Regions from separate parts of the Homo sapiens genome. Here region 1 is linked to region 2. Evidence: promoter capture Hi-C in 16 types of primary human blood cells and fetal thymus (Javierre and others, 2016). All regions are on one chromosome and are shown on one strand. Each heading gives the region's core, a stretch centred on a gene start or on the middle of the fragment in contact. The rest is flanking DNA. Distances are from core to core; before and after follow the strand shown.

Evidence for each region. The method cuts DNA at HindIII sites, captures the fragments that hold promoters and counts their contacts. A CHiCAGO score of 5 or more calls a contact.
Region 1: the fragment with the promoter of SLC44A2 here is called in contact with the fragment with the promoter of C19orf38 in region 2 in 1 of 17 cell types (neutrophils); the score reaches 7.1 in neutrophils.

Annotation. Positions count from the first base shown.
Region 1 is chr19:10,624,105-10,627,677 of GRCh38, reverse strand. It overlaps SLC44A2 (solute carrier family 44 member 2 (CTL2 blood group)), which reads right to left and starts at 2,125. Exons shown (of 22, transcript NM_020428.4): 1 at 2,008-2,125; 2 at 1,377-1,425. The coding sequence starts at 2,044. RefSeq lists an enhancer at 3,086-3,573. The HindIII fragment of the contact is 23,966 bases long and covers 1-3,573 here.
Region 2 is chr19:10,846,563-10,849,998 of GRCh38, reverse strand. It overlaps C19orf38 (chromosome 19 open reading frame 38), which reads right to left and starts at 1,584. Exons shown (of 7, transcript NM_001136482.3): 1 at 1,460-1,584. The coding sequence starts at 1,490. The HindIII fragment of the contact is 13,315 bases long and covers 1-3,436 here.

The sequences.
Region 1 (3,573 bases), core at 876-3,375, 220 kb after region 2:
TGCACCATGGGCCCATCTGCCCTCTGCAAACACCCTCATCCATGTGTTATTTGGACAAATTTTCCTGAGTCGTTTGAATGCCGTACCAAAGGGCACATGCATTTTAATTTTTATTTCATTTCATTTTTTAATTTTGTGCAACAGAGTCTCACTCCGTCATCCAGGCTGGAGTACAGTGGCATGATCATAGCTCACTACAGCCTCGAACTCCTGGGCTCAAGTGATCCTCCTGCCTCAGCTTCCCAAGTAGTTGAGACTACAGGTGCACACCACCACACATTTTTTTTTTAATTTATATACATTCTGTAGAGACAAGGTCTCGCTATGTTGCCCAAGCTAGACTTTTTTTTTTTTTTTGAGAGGGAATCTCACTCTGTCGCCCAGGCTGGAGTGCAGTGGAACGATCTCAGCTTACTGCAACCTCTACCTCCCAGGTTCAAGCGATTCTCCTGCCTCAGTCTCCCAAGTAGCTGGGATTATAGGTGCCCGCCACCATGCCCAGCTAATTCTTGTATTTTTAGTAGAGACAGGGTTTCACCATGTTAGCCAGGCTGGTCTCGAACTCCTAACCTCAAGTGATCCACCTGCCTTGGCCTCCCAAAGTGCTGGGATTATAGGTGTGAGCCACCGTGCCTGGCTGTATTTTATTTTTTTGTTATTTTTTTTTGAGACAGAGTCTCGCTCTTGTCCTCCAGGCTGGAGTGCAGTGGCGCAATCTCAGCTTACTGCAACCTCCACCTCCCAGATTCAAGCAATTCTCCTGCCTCAGCCTTCTGAGTAGCCTCTGAGTAGTCACAGCTACTGGAGAGGCTGAGACAGAAGACGTGCTTGAACCAGGAGGGGAAGGTTGCAGTGAGCTGAGATTGCACCACTCCAGCCTGGGTGACAGAGTGAGACTCCATCTCAAAAATAAATAAATAAATAAATAAATATAAACATGGTAAAAATTAAGTCCAGGCCAGGTGTGGTAACTCACACCTGTAATCCCAGCACTTTGGGAGGCCAAGGCAGGTGGATCGCTTTGAGCTCACGAGGTCGAGACCAGCATGGGCAACACAGCGAAACATCTCTGCTAAAAGTACAAAAAAAAAAAAAAATTAGCCAGGTGTGGTGGTGCAAGCCTGTAATCCCAGCTACTTGGGAGACTGAGGTGGGAGAATTGCTCGAACCCGGGAGGCGAAGGTTGCAGTGAGCCGAGATTGAGATCGCGCCACGGCACTCCAGCCTGGTGACAGAGCAAGACTCCATCTCAAAAAAAAAAAAAAGTTTCAAATATTTGTCACCAGTTTGTTGGAGAACAGATGGGAGGGGGTGTGAAGAGACAGGGATTGGGGTAGTATTAGCGGGGAGAACCCCCCAAAACCCAGAGCTCTTACCTATTGTAAATGGGTCCTTTGAAAGTGGGATCATACTTCTGTGGCGTTCCTGAAAGTCAAGAAGATTAAGATGGATGGGATTGGAGACCTGAACCAAGACAGGGCTGGGAGAGCCCCCTCCCAAAAGCCCCTAGGGGTGTCTTTGCCTTGGCAAGAATAAAATTCAGAGACCTGTGGAATTTTCTGCCTCACCCACCTCCAGGTGACCACACCCAAGCCCCCAGTTCTGGCAGGCCAGGACAGGGGAGGAAGGAGGGATCACTAACTGTGAACAAACTTATTAACTGGCGGCCACCCACTGGGAAGAGGGCTGAAATGGTGACCACCACGGAACCAGGTGGAGATGGGGAAGATCTGAGGTGGGATAGGGGGAAGGAGGCGCCGGCAGCAGTGCCAGGCAGAGGGGTACAGGGGCAGGTCCTTCGGGTAGGGGAGAGTAAGGAGGGTCGTCTGCGAGGCTGCGGGGGATAAGTGGGGTGAAGGGGCCTGGCTGATGGTGGGGAGGCTCCAGGCGCAGATTTGCAATTGCGCTCCCCCTCCAGCCCCCTTCCCTGCGCCCCATGTTCTCTCAAGGCCCCCTCCGAGGGACCGAGGGGTCGGCCCGGGGCTACGGGCGGGGGTCGCTGCCTACCGTGTTTCCCGTAGTAGTGGGGCCGCTCGTCCCCCATCCCTGCAGGCGACCAGCCCCGGCGGCCGCCCGCGCTCTCTCCCGCGCCCCCTCGACCCTCCCGAGTCTGGAGGGAGGCACTGACCGCGCGACTGGCGGCGGCTCCTCCCAGCACAGCGCCAGGCGGGGCGGCCCAAACCGGTCAGACCGGCCCGAGCTGGGCAGCTGCCCAGACTAAGGGACCCGGGAGGGCGCGGGCGGGGCTGCAGCTGCTCCCGCCACTCACCGGCCGGCCGCATTTAGCCTTCCCCGCCCCCACCCGGGAACCCTGCGGCTTCACCCTGGGAACACCCTGCCACCGGGCGATGCCGCCTAGAACCCCTGGCCACCCTGAAAGGGCGTTTCCGTGGCTTCGTTTTGCAGGTGTGGAAACTGAGGCACTGGGAGGGAAAACGGCCTACTGCCCAAACCCAGACAACCAACTGTGGAATGTTGGTGCTGAAAACTTCTCCAAGCTGTGCAGGAAATTAGTTTTCTTTCTGTCTGCTGCTTTTTTTTTTTGAGACAGGATCTCCCTCTGTTGCCCAGGCTGGAGTGCAGTGGTGCAATCACAGCTCATCGCAGTCTCGACCTCCCTGCCTCAAGCCATCCTCCTGACTAAGCCTCCTGAGTAGCTGGGACTACAGGTGCTCTACTGCACTCGGCTAATTTTTAATTTTTTTTGTAGAGATGGGATGTTGCTATGTTGCCCAGGCTCATCTTTAACTCCTGGACTCGTGGGCTCCTCCCACCGTGGCCCCCCAAAGTGCTGGGATTACCTGCGTGCACTACTGGGCCTGGTCTTAGAACAAGTATTTATTCAGCCCTTAGTGGGTGCAGGCCTTGGGCGGGGCACCGCATACAGTGAGGAACCAGAGAGACCCAATCTCCACCCTTGTGGAGCCCACATCCTCCTGGGTCGCCCTGAATTCAAATGCTCCTTCTGCACCCTCTGAACTAGAGGATACTTAACAAAGGGCTTATCTTCCTTAAGCCTCAGTTTCCTCAACTGCAAAATGAGGCTAAAGTATGAAACCAAAACTGACCTCAAAGAGCAGGCATAGGCCAGGTGCAGTGGCTCATGCCTGTAATCCCAGCACTCTGGGAGGCTGAGGCAGGTCGATCAGGATTTCTAAGCCAGCCTGGCCAACATGGTGAAACCCCTTCTCTACTAAAAATACAAACATTAGCCAGTGTGGTGGCACATGCCTGTAATCCCAGCTACTTGGGAAGCTGAGGCAGGAGAATCGCTTAAACCCAGGAGGTGGAGGTTGCAGTGAGCCAAGATTGCCTCACTGCACTCCAACCTGGGGGACAGAGTGAGACTCTGTCTCCAAAAAGAAAAAGAAAAAAGAAAATAGGCTGGGTGTGGTGGCTAACACCTATAATCCCAGCACTTTGGGAGGCCGAGGTGGGCGGATCATGAGGTCAAGAGATCGAGACCATCCTGGCCAACTTGGTGAAACCCCGTCTGTACTAAAAATACAAAAATTAGCTGGATGTTGTGGTGTGCACCTGTAGTCCCAGCTACTTGGGAGGCTGAGGCAGGAG
Region 2 (3,436 bases), core at 335-2,834:
CAGCCTCCACCTCCCGGGTTCAAGTGATTCTCCAGCCTCCCAAGTAGCTAGGATTACAGGCATGTGGCACTATGCCTGGCCAATTTTTATATTTTTAGTAGAGATGGGGTTTCACTATATTGGCCAGACTGGTCTCGAACTCCTGGCCTCGTGTGACTCCCCCCACCTCGGCCTCCCAAAGTGCTGGGATTATAGGCGTGAGCTACCATGCCTGGCCATCAGTTTTCAATAATAGCATTGGTTATTACATAGCAACACAACTATACTCTTATTTTTTATTTAATTTATTATTACTTTATTTATTTATTTAGAGACAAAATCTTGCTTTGTCGCCCAGGCTGGAGTACAGTGGCCTCAGCCTCCTGAGTACCTGGGACTATGTGCCACCATGCCTGGCTAATTTTTATATTTTTAGTAGAGACGGGGTTTCACCATGTTGGCCAGGCTGGTGAACCTGGCTAGCTAATTTTGCTTATTTTGTGTAGAGATGGGATCTCACTATGTTGCCCAGATCCTCACCTCAAGTGATCCTCCCACCTTGGCCTCCCACGAGCTGAGTCCTGAGTGGTGAGGAAGGACCCATTTGGAGAGCTGGGGAAGGGCATTCCAACAGAGGGAACAGCATAGGCAAAGGTCCAGGGGATGGAAGGGGAATGGGGGTGTTTAAGGAGGAGCAAACACCTGATGCAGTGGCTCACGCCTGTAATCCCAGCACTTTGGGAGGCCAAGGTGGGAGGACTGCTTGAGCCCAGGAATTTGAGACTAGCCTGGAGAACACAGTGAGACCCTGTCTCTATTTAAAAATAAAAATAAATATTAAAAAAGGAGCAGCAAGGAGGCCATCATGGCAGGAGGGAGGGGGTGAGTGAGGTGGGTGGCAGGAAGGGGAGGGGGTGAGTGAGAGGGAGGGCAGGAGAAGGAAGGGCAGAGGACTTTTATCTCCTTTCCCAGGCTTGGGTGAAGAATACGGATTTTGGAGCACGGCTTCCTGCAGGATGGTCTCCTGGGGATCCATCTCTCTCCTGATTGCCCACAGGCTTCTGAGCAGAGTGTCTGGCCAGGTGAGGTCTATACAAACCCTCCCTCGTCCAGCCTCCAACCCCCACCCACCCCTGCCACACTGATATCCCCCTAGGTAGACCCTCCTGCTGCCCCAGCACTCAAGGAGCCTTCAGAGACGAAGCGGGGCTGAATCATGGGGTGTGGGCACAGCTGACTCCAGAGGGGTGATATTTCTGATATTCATAAACTTGGGGGTGATGAGGAGCCTAAGAAGAAAAAACCAACACTACTGGAGAGTTTCCAAGGCTCAGGGGGAAAACCCATCTGCCAAGGGCTCAGCCTCCTCGATGCCCTGAGAACGGCAGCCCCTGCACTGGTTTCTGCCCCTGGAGCGGCAAGGTGGACAGAGGATGGGGGGAAAGGCGTGGGGGATCTGAGAGGGGGGCTTCAGACTCACCAGCTGCAAAGAGCAAGATGGTCCAGGGCATCTCTCTCTGCGTTTGGCTGGGAAATCCGGCTGAGGCCAGAGGGGCCCAAGGCTCCCCGCCAACTCCTCCTGTGAGGCCAGATCGGGGAAAGGAGAACCAGGGCTGATTCTCGAGCTGAGAGTTTCCTCACTGGCAGGAAGTTGCACACACAGGCTTGGGCACTGAAAGGGACTCTCTCCCCTCCCCACCCCTTCCCCAAACACACATCAGACCCGCGCACCTCTCTGGTTGCGGTTCTGCAGATTAGAGGGGAAAAAAATGGATGAGATGTTTAGGTGGTTTTCACAATTTTTTCCTCTTTTTTTATTTTTATTTTTTGAGACAGAGTCTTGCTCTGTTGCCCAGGCTGGAGTGCAGTGGAGCGATCTCGGCTCACTGCAGCCTCCACCTCCCAGGTTCGAGTGATTCTCCTGCCTCAGCCTCCTGAGTAGCTGGGACTACAGGCAGGAGCCATCATGCACAGCTAATTTTTGTATTTTTAGTAGAGACGGGGTTTTGCTGTGTTGGCCAGGATGGTCTCGATCTCTTGACCTCATTATCTGCCCGCCCCAGCCTCCCAAAGTGCTGGGATTTCAGGCGTGAGCCACCGTGCCCAGCCTTTTGTCTCTCCTTCTAAGAGAACTCCTGGGAATGAGACAGGGTGACAGCAGTGGGATGTTTGGAAACCCATGCCCAAGACACAAACCATAGCCTAACCAGCACCAACATTTAAACAAATATGGGCAGGAGTGGGAGGACATGGTGGTTAGGGCTTGGCCTCTGTGACCTCAGGCATGGCTTACCTCCTTTGAGGCTTCAGTATACTGCTCTGCAGAATGGGGCTAAGAGTAGTAGACATTAGGCCAGACGTGGTGGCTCACGCCTGTAATCCCAGCACTTTGGGAGGCTGAGGTGGGCAGATCACCTGAGGTCAGGAGTTCGAGACCAGGCCAACGTGGTGAAACCCCGTCTCTACTATATACAAAAAATTAGCCGGGCGTGGTGGCACACGCCTGTAATCCCAGCTACTCGGGAGGCTGAGGCAGGAGAATCACTTGAACCCAGGAGATGGAGATTGTGGTGAGTTGAGATCGCGCCATTGCACTCCAGCCTGGGCAACAAGAGTGAAATTCCATCTCAAAAAAAAAAAAAAAAAAAAAGAGCAGTGGACATTAGATTCAAAGAACTTGTAGTAGGAAATGCAACGCCTAGTGGGTAGTGCATGCTCACAAGGTAAAGTTACAGGGAGGAAAAAGACTCAGAAGTTTGATCAGCCACATGAAAGGGAATACCAGTTCCAGATCAATTCTGGATATAGTTTGTGATATAGTTCACAGGATAAACTGCCTCCTGTTTACAGCCCAGAAACTTCCAAGTTTCTCTTACTACTGGGTTTGCATTTATCTTTTTAAACATTTCTGTTCAAGCCAGTCAGGTTTGCTTGGGGGTTTGGACCCAAGAAGGATGTGGCATGTGGTCATCAAACACCAAAATGCGTCATTAGAGTAAACTTTTTTCTTTGGACACAGAAAGTTCAATCCAACCTCAGGGCCTTTGCACACACTATTTCCCTGGCCTGGAACACAATTCTGTCAACCTGGTCAAATCCTGCTTCTCCTTCAGGTCTCAGTTTAAATAGCACTTCTGGGAAAACTTTCCAGGCCCCTCTGGACTTAGAACAATCCCCTAGCTAAATTCTCCCACAGTGCCCTGTAATATTCCTTTATTGCAATTGGCATGCTTGTATCTTCAAGGAATTTGCTCATTTCATCAGAGTTGTCAAATGTATTGGTGTAAAGTTATTTATATCCCCTTACTATCCTTTTAATGTCTGTAGGGTCTGTAGTGATGTTCCTTCTTTCATTCCTGACACATAAATTAGTGAAGTCTCCTTGTCTCTTATCGGTCTTCCTAGGAGCTAATCATTGTTATTGATCTTTTCAAAGTGCCACAGTTTGGATTTGTTG